Linked DNA regions of Homo sapiens: region 1 is linked to region 2. Evidence: promoter capture Hi-C in 16 types of primary human blood cells and fetal thymus (Javierre and others, 2016). All regions are on one chromosome and are shown on one strand. Each heading gives the region's core, a stretch centred on a gene start or on the middle of the fragment in contact. The rest is flanking DNA. Distances are from core to core; before and after follow the strand shown. Region 1 overlaps C12orf56 (chromosome 12 open reading frame 56). Region 2 holds the start of RXYLT1-AS1 (RXYLT1 antisense RNA 1).

Evidence for each region. The method cuts DNA at HindIII sites, captures the fragments that hold promoters and counts their contacts. A CHiCAGO score of 5 or more calls a contact.
Region 1: a contact is called between a fragment that was not itself captured here and the fragment with the promoter of RXYLT1-AS1 in region 2, in 1 of 17 cell types (M0 macrophages). The highest score is 5.0, in M0 macrophages.

Annotation. Positions count from the first base shown.
Region 1 is chr12:64,370,958-64,378,138 of GRCh38, forward strand. The region is part of intron 1 of C12orf56 (chromosome 12 open reading frame 56); the gene reads right to left. Among named protein-coding and RNA genes, the nearest start is that of C12orf56, 16 kb to the right of the region's middle. The HindIII fragment of the contact is 1,797 bases long and covers 2,978-4,774 here.
Region 2 is chr12:63,820,785-63,827,756 of GRCh38, forward strand. RXYLT1-AS1 (RXYLT1 antisense RNA 1) reads right to left here and starts at 1,372. Exons shown (of 4, transcript NR_126167.1): 1 at 1,145-1,372. It overlaps MIR10527 (microRNA 10527), which reads left to right and starts at 2,879; the gene lies at 2,879-2,943. It also overlaps the pseudogene PABPC1P4. The HindIII fragment of the contact is 5,765 bases long and covers 1-1,939 here.

The DNA.
Region 1 (7,181 bases), core at 2,626-5,125, 550 kb after region 2:
CCACTACACTCCACATTGGGCCATAGAGTGAGACCCCATCTCTAAAAAACAAAAACAAAAGAATAGAGAACCCAGAAATAAACCCACACATATATGGTCAACTGATCTTCCACATGAATGCCAAAAATACACAACAAGGATATGTTGGAAAAACTGGGTATCAGCCAGACACGGTGGCTCACAACTGTAATCCGAGCACTTTGGGAGGCCGAGGCTGGTGGATCATCTGAGGTCAGGAGTTTGAGACCAGCCTGGCTAACACGGCAAAACTGTCTCTACCAAAAACATTACAAAAAAACATTAGCCGGGAGTGGTGGCACACACACGTAATCCTAGCTACTGAGGTGTGACAATCACTTGAACCCAAGAGGCAGAGATTGCAGTGAGCCGAAATGGCACTCCTGTGCGCCAGCCTGGGTGACAGAGTGAGACCCTGTCTCAAAAAAACAAAACCAAAAACACTGGATATCCACATGCAAAAGAATTATATCAGAATATCTTATACTATAAAAAAATCAACTCAAAATGGATTAAAGACTTAAATGTTAAGAACTGAAATTGTAAAACTCCTTATAAGAAAATCCAGGGGGTGACCAGGTGTGGTGGTTCACATCTGTAATTCCAGCACTTTGGGAGGCCGAGGCAGGTGGATCATCTGAGGTCAGGAGTTTGAGACCAGCCCGGCTAACATGGTGAAACCCGGCTCTAAGAAAAATACAAAAATTAGCTGGGCATGGTGGTGCACACCTGTAATCCCAACTACTTGGGAGGCCGAGGCAGGAGAATTGCTTGAATCCAGGAGGTAGAGGTTGCAGTGAGCTGAGATCATGCCATTGCACTCCAGCCTGGGTGACAGAGTGGGACTCTGTCTCAAATAAAAACATAATAATAATAAAAAGAAAATACAGGGGGAAAGTGTCATGATATTGGTCTTGGCAATGATTTCTTTTTTTTTTTTTTTTTTTTTGCACGCACCACCACATGCAGCTAATTTTTGTATTTTAGTAGAGACAGGGCTTCACCATGGTGGCCAGGCTGGTCTCAAACTACTGACCTCAAGTGACCCTCCCTCCTCGGCCTCCATAAGTCCTAGGATTACAGGCATGAGCCACTGCACCTAGCCACTTACACAGTACTTTCTCTGTTCAAAATCTGTTCTAAGCATTTTTTGTACATTTACTTATTTGATCTTCATACCTACCCTAGAAGATAGATATTATATGTTATAGTTGAGGAAACTGAGGCATGGAGGAAGTTAAGGGATTTGCCCAAAGGTTCATAAAACCCAAGAGTTCATTTGTAAGCAAGTATTGAGAACATGCTATTAAACGATGTTTTTTACCTTTGTTCAAAAAAAACCCTAAGAGTTTAATCATATAAACTGATTTGTAGTTTAGCAAAACAATTCATTTTTTGATCATTTAAATTTGAAAGTATTCCATGGCAATATTTTATTGCGAACTATGTCTGACTACCTATTATTTTAACCTAAATCTTAAGCTGTAGGAAATGGTTTGAATTTAATGATCTTGAAGCTTTTAGTAATTTTTTTTAGGTTTTGCTTTTCTTTTCCTTGAGACAGAGTCTCGCTCTGTTGTCCAGGCTGGAGTGCAATGGCACGATCTTGGCTCACTGCAACCACTGCCTCCAGGTTCAAGCGATTCTCCTCCCTCAGCTTCCTGAGTAGCTGGGATTACAGGCACACACCAATATGTCCAGCTAATTTTTGTATTTTCAGTAGAGACGAAGTTTCACCATGTTGGCCAGGCTGGGTCTCAAACTCCTGACCTCAGGTGATCCGCCCACCTCAGCCTCCCAAAGTGCTGGGATTACAGGCATGAGCCACCATGCCTGGCCAGGCTCTACTAAGTCCCTATTTGAGTTTAGATACATTGTAGAAACCTGATCAAGCACATGCTTTTCCCTCCTTTTGGAACACACTAGCCATTTTTCTCTGCCTAGAAACTTCTAATCATTCTCTAAGACTAAGCTTTTTACTTCCTCGATGAAACTTTACCTGCGTCATGCCCTCGACAGAATATATCACTCTTCTGGTTTCCTGCAATATTCTGCTTATTATATCTGTTTTCACATTTCATTATCATTATCTGTTTATAACTGTTTTCCTTCTTCCTCATTTGCTTGCCTCCTTCCCTAAGTTATGAGTTACTCAAAAACAGGTACCATTTTTTATTCACTTTTATGTTTTTGGTTCCTGGTAGTTCAAAACATTTGTGGAATACTCCATATGAAATCTAATATGGAGGCAAGCAGATTACTCGAGCTCAGAAGTTTGAGACCAGCCTGGGCAATATGGTGAAACCCTGTCTCTACAAAAAATATGAAAAATTAGCTGGGTGTGGTGGCATGTACTTGTAGTCCTTGCACAGGCTGAGGTGGGAGGATTGCTTGAGTCCAGAAGGCAGAGGTTGCAGTGAGCTGAGATTGCACCACTGCACCCTAGCGTGGGCAACAGTGCAAGACCTGTCTTGAAAAAAAATAAAGAAAACAAAACCTGATATCCATGTAATGGAAGTGCACAATGTAGAGAAAAATTTGGAGATCAACTGGGCCACAGTTTTGAAATCAGTGTAAGACCCAGCAAGTGCTAAATTGTGAGACATCTTTCAGCTTCCATGGTCCTTTCAGGACCCAACTTCTCTGCACAGCAAACTCTAACTCTCCAGTCTCCACTAAAGGAAGGAAAGCAAGTAACAAATTATTTGTTGTAATTTAATGAGTCACCTGATCTGAGAGTATTTCAAAGAATCTAAAAGAGGACCAATGGTAAACCCAAAGGATTGAATCTACCGATAATTTTTTTTAGGGGGTTAAAATTTATTTATATGTTTTTTTAATCTTCTCGTTCATGTTCTCTCATGAAAATCTACTAACACAGTGGCCAATATATGAAAACATTCTGAGTAGCTTTTCCCCAAATTAAACCACATTAGCAATTACCTTCACATTGTACATAAGCTTAGTCTTAAGTAGAAACTATTTTTCCATTTGGAACTTGGCAAACCCTCTCATTTTCATAATTAAAAACCTCATTGCCATCTCCACCAGGTGGTCTTTTTTTCCATTATATTCTACCTGGGCTTTAGTGTACCAATCCCTAAGGAAGTCTGGGTAGATGAGCTATTTTTAGAATCTATGAATATTGCTGGCATGAATGATCCATCTACAAATTCCCAAAAGAATTACCAGTTTTGAGAATTAGGCAGTGCCTCATCATAATATTGAAAATTATTTCAGTGTTAGGCTTGAAAAATCATTGCCTCGGGGTCTGGATACACAGCCAAGAAAGACTAAAAGTAAAAATCTTTCAAATCCTGGCCCTAGGAAAAGGATGCTACATCCCACCTGGGCCTTTTCAGCTAAACTGGTCCTTGAACCTCATCAACAACAGCAAAGACACCAGTCTGGGCTTTGAAGGATGACAATCTTGAATGGAGAGTCATGGGGTCTCTAAGAATAATATATCACTCACAAATGTATCTACATCATTTTTCACCATATTTATATTTGCAACTGATATTAATTTATCTTACTTTTATCAAAACATTACTTTTTTTTCCAACTTTTTTTTTTCTTTTTTTTTCCGAGATGGAGTCTCGCTGTCACCTAGGCTGGAGTGCAGTGGCGAGATCTCGGCTCACTGCAAACTCCGCCTCCCAGGTTCCAGTGATTCTCCTGCCTCAGCCTCCTGAGTAGCTGGGATTACAGGTGCCCACCACCATGCCCGGCTAATTTTTAAATTTTTATTAGAGACAGGATTTCACCATGTTGGCCAGACTAGTCTCAAACTCCTGACCTCAGGTGATCTGCCTACCTTGGCTTCCCAAAGTGCTGGGATTACAGGTGTGAGCCACCATCCCCAGTCTTTATTTTCAACTTTTAAGTTCAGGGGTACATGTGCAGAATGTGCAGGTTTGCTATTAGGTTGGTGCAAACATAATTGCGGTTTTTGCATTGTTGAAATTTGCTGTTTGATATTGGAATACGTTCTTAAATAAATGTGGTTATGTTATACATTGTTTTAATGCATGTTTCTTGCTTTTTTTGCTAATGACTTATTACTTGCTGTTTATTTTATATTTATTTTATTATTTATTTATTTATTTTTTGAGAGGGAGTCTCACTCTGGAGTACAGTGGTGTGACCATGGTTCACTGCAACCTCCGCCTCCCAGGTTCAAGCAATTCTCCTGCCTCAGCCTCCTGAGTAGCTGGCAGTACAGGCCCGTGCCACCATGCCCAGCTAATTTTGTATTTTTAGTAGAGACAGTTTCACCATGTTGGCCAGGCTGGTCTTGAACTCCTGGCCTCAAGTGATTCACCTGCTTCTGCCTCCCAAAGTGCTGGGATTACAGGCATGAGCCACCATGCCAAGCCCATATTTTATATTTATTTTAGAGTATGGAAATGAGGTTAGAGGAAAAGGAAACTATTTTTGTCTTTTTGAGCAATTTTCTTATTCAAGTTCAAAATGGGTCATAAAGCAGTGGAGACAACTCGCAACATCAACAATGCATTTGACCCAGGAACTGCTAACAAGTGTACAGTGTAGTGGTGGTTCAAGAAGTTCTGCAAAGGAGACCAGAGCCTTGAAGATGAGGAGCATAGAGGCTGGCCATTGGAAGCTGACAATAACAAATTAAGAGCAATCATCAAAGCTGATCCTCTTACAACTACACAAAAAGTTTTGGAAGAACTCAACATCAACCATTCTATGGTCATTCAGCATCTGAAGCAAATTAGAAATGTGAAAAAGCTTGATAAATGCATGTCTCATGAGTTGAGCGAAAATTTAAAAAATATTGTTCTAAAGTGTCATCTTCTCTTATTTTATGCAACAACGAACAGTTTTTCTGATTGGATTGTGATGTGCGATGAAAAGTGGATTTTATACTACAATCAGCGACAACCAGCTCAGTAGTGGGACTGAGAAGAAGCTCCAAAGCATTTCCCAAAGCCAACCTGCACTGAAAAAAAGGTCATGGTCACCTTGTGTGGTGATCTGCTGCCAGTCTGATCTACTACAGCTTTCTGAATCCCAGCAAACCCATTACATCTGAGAATTATGCTCAGCAAATAGATGAGATGCACCAAAACTGCAACGCCTGCAGCCAACATTGGTCAATAGGAAAGGCCCAATTCTTTTCCACAACAATGTCCGACTGCGCATCACACAACCAACACTTCAGAAGTTGAAAGATTGGGCTACAAAATTCTGCCTCATCCGTCATATTCACCTGACCTCTTGCCAACTGACTACCACTTCTTCAAGCATCTTGACAACTTTTGGCAGGGAAAATGCTTCCACAACCAGCAGGATGCAGAAAATGCTTTCCAAGAGTTCGTTGGGCCCCAAAGCATGGATTTTTAAGCTATAGGAATTAACAAACTTATTTCTTGTTGGCAAAAATGTATTGATTGTAATGGTTACTATCTTAATGAATAAAGATGTGTTTGAGCCTAGTTATAATGATTTAAAATCCACGGTCCGAAACAGCAATTACTTTTGTACCAATCTAATACATAGATAAATCCGTGCCATGGTGACTTGCTGCACAGATCATTCCATCACCCAGGTGTTAAGCCCAGCATCCACTAGCTATTCTTCCTGATCCTCTCCCTTCTCCCTTCTCCCACCCCCACCCTCTGACAGGCCCCAGTGTCTGTCATTCCCCACTATGTGTCCATGTGTTCTCATCATTTAGCTCCCACTTATAAGTGAGAACATGTGGTATTTAGTTTTCTGTTCCTGCATTAATTTGCTGAGGATAATGGCTTCCAGCTCCATCCATGTCTCTGCAAAGGACATGATCTCATTCCTTTTGATGCTTGCATAGTATTCCATGGTGTATATGTACCACATTTTCTTTTTTTTTTCTTTAGATGGAGTCTTGCTCTGTTGTCCTGGCTGGAGTGCAGCGGCCAGGTAGTTCTGCCTCTAGGTCTTTGAGGAATTGCCACACTGTCTTCCACAATGATTCAATTAATTTACACTACCACCAACATTGTAAAAGGGTTCCTTTTTCTCCACAATCTCACCAGCATCTGTTGTTTTTGACTTTTTAATAATCACCATTCTAACTGGTGTGAGATAGTATCTCACTTTCGTTTGGATTTGCATTCTGTAGTGATTGGTGATGTTGAACTTTTTTCACATATTTGTTGGCCACATGTATATCTTCTTTTGAGAAGTATCTGTTCATGTCCTTTGCCCACTTTTTTTTTTTTTTTTTTGAGGAGTCTCGCTATGTTGCCCAGGCTGGAGTGCAGTGGTGTGATCTCGGCTCACTGCAACCTCCACCTCCTGGATTCAAACGATTCTCAGCCTCAGCCTCCTGAGGAGCTGGGATTACAGGCAAGTGCACCACCCCCAGCTAATTTTTTTATTTTTAGTAGAGGCGGGGTTTCATCATATTGGCCAGGCTGGTCTGGAACTCCTGACCTCAAGTGATCTGCCCACCTCAGTCTCTCAAAGTGCTAGGATTACAGGCGTGAGCCACTGCACCTGGCCTCTTGGCCCACTTTTTAATATGTTTGTGATTTCTTTGTAAATTTTAAAATGTTACTTTCAAAATGCAAAGGAGTACCTCTTATTTCTTGGTTTCCCATATTTTGTGAATAAATCTATATTTATCTTATCCGTTATTCTTGCTTTCATAGCCTTGATTCATATTTCTTTTATCAGCTTTTAATTTCAGAGAAAAAAAGACCCCTAAGCTTTCAGCAGTTGATTATCTAGTTTCTGATTTGTTCAGTTCAATTCACCATAAGTATTTTTGAGCTCTTACTACAAAGGCCAAAACTGAAACATACAAAATGTAAGATGGGTTTCTGTTTTCAAAAGGCTTAAAGTCTTGCGGGAATTCAGGCAACCAAAAAAAATTTTTTTTTATGATCTACTAGGTACCAAAGGAGCTGTAGCCTAGAGATTAGAGCACTGACTCTGGAGCCAGATGATCTAAATTCAAATTCTGGTTCTGCCACTTAATGGACAACCTTGGGCAAATTGCTTAAATTCTCTGTAATTCAGGTTTCTTGTCTGTAAAACTGAGCTAAGAATATTATCTGAGTTGTTATGAGGATGAAGTTCCAAGCTAAGCACTTAGAACAGCATCTAACTGGCATACAGTAAGCACTCAATAAATGTCAACTATTTGAGAT
Region 2 (6,972 bases), core at 122-2,621:
AGGTCACAAAATAAGTCTTAAAACATTAAAAAAAAAAAAAAAAAAACTGGGCCGGGTGCAGTGGCTCATGCCTGTAACCCAACACTTTGGGAGGCCGAGGCAGGCAGATCACAAGGTCAGGAGTTTGAGACCAGCCTGGCCAACATAGTGAAACCCCATCTCTACTAAAAATGCAAAAACTAGCCAGGCATGGTGGAACACACCTGTAGTCCCCGCTACTCGGGAGGCTGAGGCAAGGGAGTCACTCGAACCCAGGAGGCAGAGGTTGCAATGAGTTGAGATCACGCCACTGCACTCCAGCCCGGGTGACAGAGGGAGACTCAGTCTAAAAAAAACCCTGAAATAATATCAAGCATTTTCTCTGACCACAATGAAACAAAACTAGAAATTAATAACAAGAGGAATTTTGGAAACTATGCAAACATATGGAAATTAAACAATATACTCCTGAACGACCAGTGGATCAATGAAGTAATTAAAAAGGAAATTGAAATATTTATTGAATCAAATGATAATGGAAACACAACATACCAAAACCTATGGGATACAGCAAAAGCAGTACTAAGAGGGAATTTTATAGCTACAAGTGCCTACATCAGAAAAAAAGAAAAACTGGCCGGGCGTGGTGGCTCACGCCTGTAATCCCAGCACTTTGGGAGGGCTAGGCGGACAGATTACCTGAGGTCAGGAGTTCCATACCAGCCTGGCCAACATGGTGAAACCCCGTTTCTACTGAAAATACAAAAATTAGCCCCTTCTCCCGGCAGTTAGTGCTCAGAGTGCGGAGTGTGTGCTCCAGGCTCGGAACATACATTTATTATTAAAAAAAAATCTAAAAAAATATTTTAAAAACTTTCCCACAATTTACAAAAAATCCGCCTCTCCCCTGCCATAGACTTTTATTTTTTTCTTCTTCTTCTTTTATAAAGTAACCCCGTGAAGCAGCCGAGGCCGACTCGCCCGCCCGCAGCAGCTCCAAAAAGGAACCAAGAGACCGAGGCCTTCCCGCTGTCCGGACTGACACCTCCACCTTCGCCCGCAGCCAGCGGCAGCGGATCAACACCATTCTGGGGCGGTGAAGTAGTTTTCGATTCCGGGTGATTTTTGTCCCTCTGCGCTTGCGCTTGCGCTTGCCCCCGCTCACCTTCCCCCAGCTCCGGCCCCTAGCCCCAGCATTCGCTCTCCTCCTCTCACGGAAAGGTCGCGGCCTGTGGCCCTGCGAGCAGCAGTGCCGAGATGAACCCCAGTGCCCCCAGCTACGTCCTCGCTGTACGTGGGGGACCTCCATCCCGACGTGACCGAGGCGATGCTCTACAAGAAGTTCAGCGCGGCCGGGCTCATCCTCTCCATCCGGGTCTGCAGGGACATGATCACCCACGGCTCCTTGGGCTACGCGTATGTGAACTTCCAGTAGCCCGCGGACGCGGAGCATGCTGTGAACACTATGAATTTTGATGTTATAAAGGGCAAGCCAGTACGCATCGTGTAGTCTCAGCGTGATCCATCACTTCGCAAAAGTGGAGTGGGCTACATATTCATTAAAAATCTGGACAAATCCATTGATAATAAAGCACTGTATGATACATTTTTCTGCTTTTGGTAACATCCTTTCATGTAAGGTGGGCTGTGATGAAAATGATTCCAAGGGCTATGGATCTGTACACTTTGAGACACAGGAAGCAGCTGAAAGAGCTATGGAAAAAATGAATGGAATGCTCCTAAATGATCGCAAAGTATTTGTTGGACGATTTATGTCTCATAAAGAACGAGAAGCTGAACTTGGAGCTACGTGAAAGAGTTCACCAATGTTTACATCAAGAATTTCGGAGAAGACATGGATGATGAGCGCCTTAAGAATCTCTTTGGCAAGTTTGGGCCTGCCTTAAATGTGAAAGTAATGACTGGTGAAAGTGGAAAATCTAAAGGATTTGGATTTGTAAGCTTTGAAAGGCTTGAAGATGCACAGAAAGCTGTGGATGAAATGAAAGGAGCTCAATGGAAAACAAATTTATGTAGGTAGAGCTCAGAAAAAAGTGGAACGGCAGACAGAACTTAAGCGCAAATTTGAACAGGTGAGGCAAGATAGGATCACCAGATACCACCGTGTTAATCTTTATGTGAAAAATCTTGATGATGGCATTAATAATTAACGTCTCCGGAAAGAGTTTTCTCCATTTGGTACAATCACCAGTGCAAAGGTTATGATGGAGGGTGGTCGCTGCAAAGGGTTTGGTTTTGTATGTTTCTCCTCACCAGAAGAAGCCACTAAAGCAGTTACAGAAATGAATGGTAGAATTGTGGCCACAAAGCCATTGTATGTTGCTTTAGCTCAGCGCAAAGAAGAGTGCCAGGCTCACCTCACTAACCAGTATATGCAAAGAATGGCAAGTGTACGAGCTGTGCCCAATCTTGAAATCAACCCCTACCAGCCAGCACCTCCTTCAGGTTACTTCATGGCAGCTATCCCACAGACTCAGAACGGTGCTGCATACTATCCTCCTAGCCAAATTGCTCAACTAAGACCAAGTCCTCGCTGGACTGCTGAGGGTGCCAGACCCCATCCATTCCAAAATAGGCCCAGTGCTATCCGCCCGGCTGCTCCTAGACCACCATTTAGTACTATGAGACCAGCTTCTTCACAGGTTCCATGAGTTATGTCAACACAGCGTGTTGCTAACACATCGACACAGACAATGGGTCCACGTCCTGCAGCTGCTGCTGCTGCCACTCCACATTATAACTATGCTGCGGGAGTTCGCAGTCCTCAGAAACATCTTAATGCACAGCCACAAGTTACAATGCAACAGCCTGCTGCTCATGTACAAGGTCAGGAACCTTTGACTGCTTCCATGTTGGTATCTGCCCATGCTCAAGAGCAAAAGCAAATGTTGGGTGAACGGCTGTTTCCTCTTATTCAAGCCATGCACCTTACTCTTGCTGGTAAAATCACTGGCATGTTGTTGGAGATTGGTAATTCAGAACTTCTTCATATGCTGGAGTCTCCAGAGTCACTCCGTTCTAAGGTTAATGAAACTGTAGCTGTACTACAAGCCCACCAAGCTGAAGTGGCTGCCCAGAAAGCAGTTAACCGTGCCACCGGTGTTCCAACTGTTTAAAATTGATCAGGTACCATGAAAAGAAACTTGTGCTTCACAGAAGAAAAATATCTAAACATCGAAAAATGTAAATATTATTTTTTTAATAAACATTGCAAAATATAAAATAAATTTAAAAAGGAAAAGAAACTTTGAACCTTATGTACCGAGAAAATGCCAGGTCTAGCAAACATAATGCTAGTCCTAGATTACTTATTGATTTAAAAATTTTAAAAAAACACAAAAATAGTAAAATATGAAAACCAATTAATGTTTTATAGACTCTGGGAAAAAATTTTCAGCAAAGTGCAAAAATTTAAAGCATTCCTTTCTTTAATTTTGTAATTCTTTACTGTGGAATAGTTCAAAATGTCAGTTCTGTTTTAAGTAACAGAATTGATAACTGAGCTAGGAAACGTAATTTGGATTATAAAATTATTGCTTTAATAACAATTCCTTAAATGGTGAAAAAAATAATAATAATAAAATACAAAAATTAGCCGGGCATAGTGGCACGCGCCTGTAATCCCAGCTACTCAGGAGACTGAGGCAGGAGAATTTCTTGAACCCGGGAGGCAGAGGTTACAGTGAGCTGAGATCGCATCATTGTGTTCCAGCCTGGGTGACGGAGCAAGACCCCATCTCAAAAAAGAAGGAAGGAAGGGGGTGGGGGACGGGGAGGGGAGGGGAGAAGAGGCAGAAGGGTATTTGAGGGCATATGCTTTTTTCTCTCCATTAAATGAGGAACATAATATCACCCTGAAATTCCACTCCATTTTGTTAACCATGTGCAGAGGATATCGCTTTTAAAATACATATATTAAGGAACAGGCAACAGAGATTGTCCCTTAGGCGGGAAGCTGATGTGTAAAACAGACTCTTTTCCCTCACTGTATACATTTTAATACTGCATGGGTTTTGCATCATATGCTTGTATCTCCCAATTAATTGTAAAGCCAACAAAATCTTGGCTCAACTTAATGAATAATAAAAGTAATAGAGGGACCCTTTGACTTATATATGTCTATTATCTTCCGCATATATTTTGTTATCCCAATATACCTTGCACTGTAGCAAGGAATACATGTGATCATTTCAGCAGTTATAAAAGATCACAAAAAGTAGGGGAGAAAGGAGGAAAGGTAGGAAGGGAGGGAGGGAAGAATAGAAAGGAAAGGAATAAAATGTAGGCTGGTATAATAAAGTTGGTGCCGAGCGTGGTGGCTCACACCTGTAATCACAACACCTTGGGAGGTCAAAGCGGGCAGATCACTTGAGCCCAGGAGTTCTGAGACCAGCCTGGATAACATGGAGAAACCCCATCTCTACAAAATTACAAAAATTATCTGGGCATGGTGGCGCACAGCTGCAGTCCCAGCTACTCAGGAGGCTGAGGTGGGAGGATCACTTGAGCCCAGGAGGTTAAGGCTGCAGTGAGCTGTGATTGCACCACCACACTCCAGCCTTTTGAAACAGAGCCTGTCTCAAAAATAATAATAATATGGCTGGGCGTAGTGGCTCATGCCTGTAATCCCAGCTCTTTGGGAGGCCAAGACGGGTGATTCATTTGAGGTCAGGAGTTCAAGACCAGCCTGACCTACATAATTAAACCCTGTTTCTACTAAAAATACAAAAAATTAGCTGTGAGTGGTGGCATGTGCCTGTAATACCAGCTACTCAGGAGGCTGAGGCAGGAGAATCGCTTGAACCCAGGAGGTGGAGGTTACAGTGAGTCGAGATCATGCCACTGCCCTCCAATCTGGGCTACAGAGCAAAACTCTGTCCAAAAAATTAAAATTAAAATAATAGTAATACAAAGTTGGTGATTTGTGCTGAGCCAGTTTCTCTTTCAGGGGAAAAACATCACATCAGAAAACTAGATAAATATTATGATTAAAAGATATGAAATAGAATTTGATAAAAAGACATCAGATAGTCAAGGGTAAATTGTCAGTTAATAACAATATTTTTAAATGCTTTGTGGAGGGAAATTCCATGTCACAAAGACTTAGAAAAAAAGAGAAGGAAGACAAGCCTATCACGTATATCTATCTATAGATCTAGCCATATCTCCATCTCTCTATCATCCATCTACCTGTCTATATTTATATACCTATGGCAGATAGATATGTCTAGATTAAATAGTTAGGTAAATAGATAAAAATATATTAATTTGAAGTCTTTATGTACTAAGTACCATTTGATAGTTTTGGTTACAAAATAGAAATACAGAAACGGAAGTCATTTATTGTATTATGCCATGGAAAGTGGATGACTCTCATGGTGCAAGTGCAGTCTATGTCCGAAAGAGGGAGTAGTGAAATCACAGATAGCATCATGGTTTTTCTGACTTTTTGCTTCTGATATTTCCCAACTTAAGAGCCAGAGGAGAGTAGGGAACTGGGAAAGAAGAGTTTATCAGCTGTTGGATGAACAGATCTTTGGAGTAAGCAGTTGTCTCGCACACTGCAGCTTTACAGCCATTGAGCAGAACACCCAGCCACCAATGCCCTTCTGTGATTTCCCAAGTCCTTTCCTTTAACCTAAGAATTAAATACTTTTAAACATTCAATAATTATCAAGATGATATCCTTGTTGCTAGAAGCTTTTAATTCTACTTAAATGAACTGGTTAGAATCTAAAACGTGTTCATTGTTAAATAAACTGGTTAGAATCTAAAATGTATTCATTGTTTAATGAAAAATGGGTTCATATTCTTGACATTTGATTGCTAAATCAGAAACAAAAAGTAGGACATGTTGGCTGAATGTGGTGGCACATGCCTGCAATCTCAGCATTTTGGAAGGCCAGGGCAGGAGGATGACTTGGCGTCAGGAGATGGAGACCATCCTGGCCAACATAGTGAAACCCCGTCTCTACTAAAAATACAAAACTTAGCTGGGCATGGTGGCAGGCACCTGTAATCCCAGCTACTCGGGAGGCTGAGACAGGAGAATCACTTGAAACCAGGAGGCAGAGGTTGCAATGAGCCGAGATCACGCCACTGCACTCCAGTCTGGGCAACAGGGTGAGACTCCGTCTCAAAAAAAAAAAAGTAGGAAGTGTTTGTCAAAAGAGCCATATTAAAGTTTCTCAGAGTTTCAATAGCTTTAAATTATTCTTCATGTGAAAAGACAAATATTATTACTTAGATTTATTAAGTGATACATTCATGATACATTTTATTAAATAATACATTCATGAGTTCCTCATGTAAATTTCACTTAAAGTTACTTAAATTTAATAAATACTACTTAAATAACCATCAAGGCCTATGGGGGTTCAATTACATTTTCACATTGGCGTTATCCGGCATGTCAGGTAGGTATCTTACATTGTTCCACATTATCCAGACAATTCAAGGAACAGGAAAGGCAGATGGCCAATAAACATATGTAAACATGTTCATCCTTTCTAGTAATCAGGGAAATGCACATTAAAATAAAAAGGAGAAGCCATTTATACTCATCATATTGGCAAAAATTTTAAAGTCAAATTTGAATTTGTAGGAAAATGGACGCCTTCATGCATTGCCAGAGGAGGTTAAATTGGTAGAACCACTTTGGAGAGCAATATAGTCCATATAATGAAGTTAATGATGCATACTCCCTACAATCCAGCAATTCCACTCCCCTTCAGTTAAAAACCTGGCTGCACATTAGATTCATTACCCCAGTGGGCTATCAACCCATTGGCCTATTAAGAAAATCTTTTTGTTTCTTTTGAGTCAGGGTCTTGCCCTGTTGCCCAGGCTGGAGTACAGTGGCACGATCAATACCCACTGAAGCCTTGACCTCCTGAGCTCAAGCGATCTTTCCCCTTCAACCTCCTGAGTAGCTAAGACTACAGGCGCATGTCACTATGCCTGGCTAGCTTT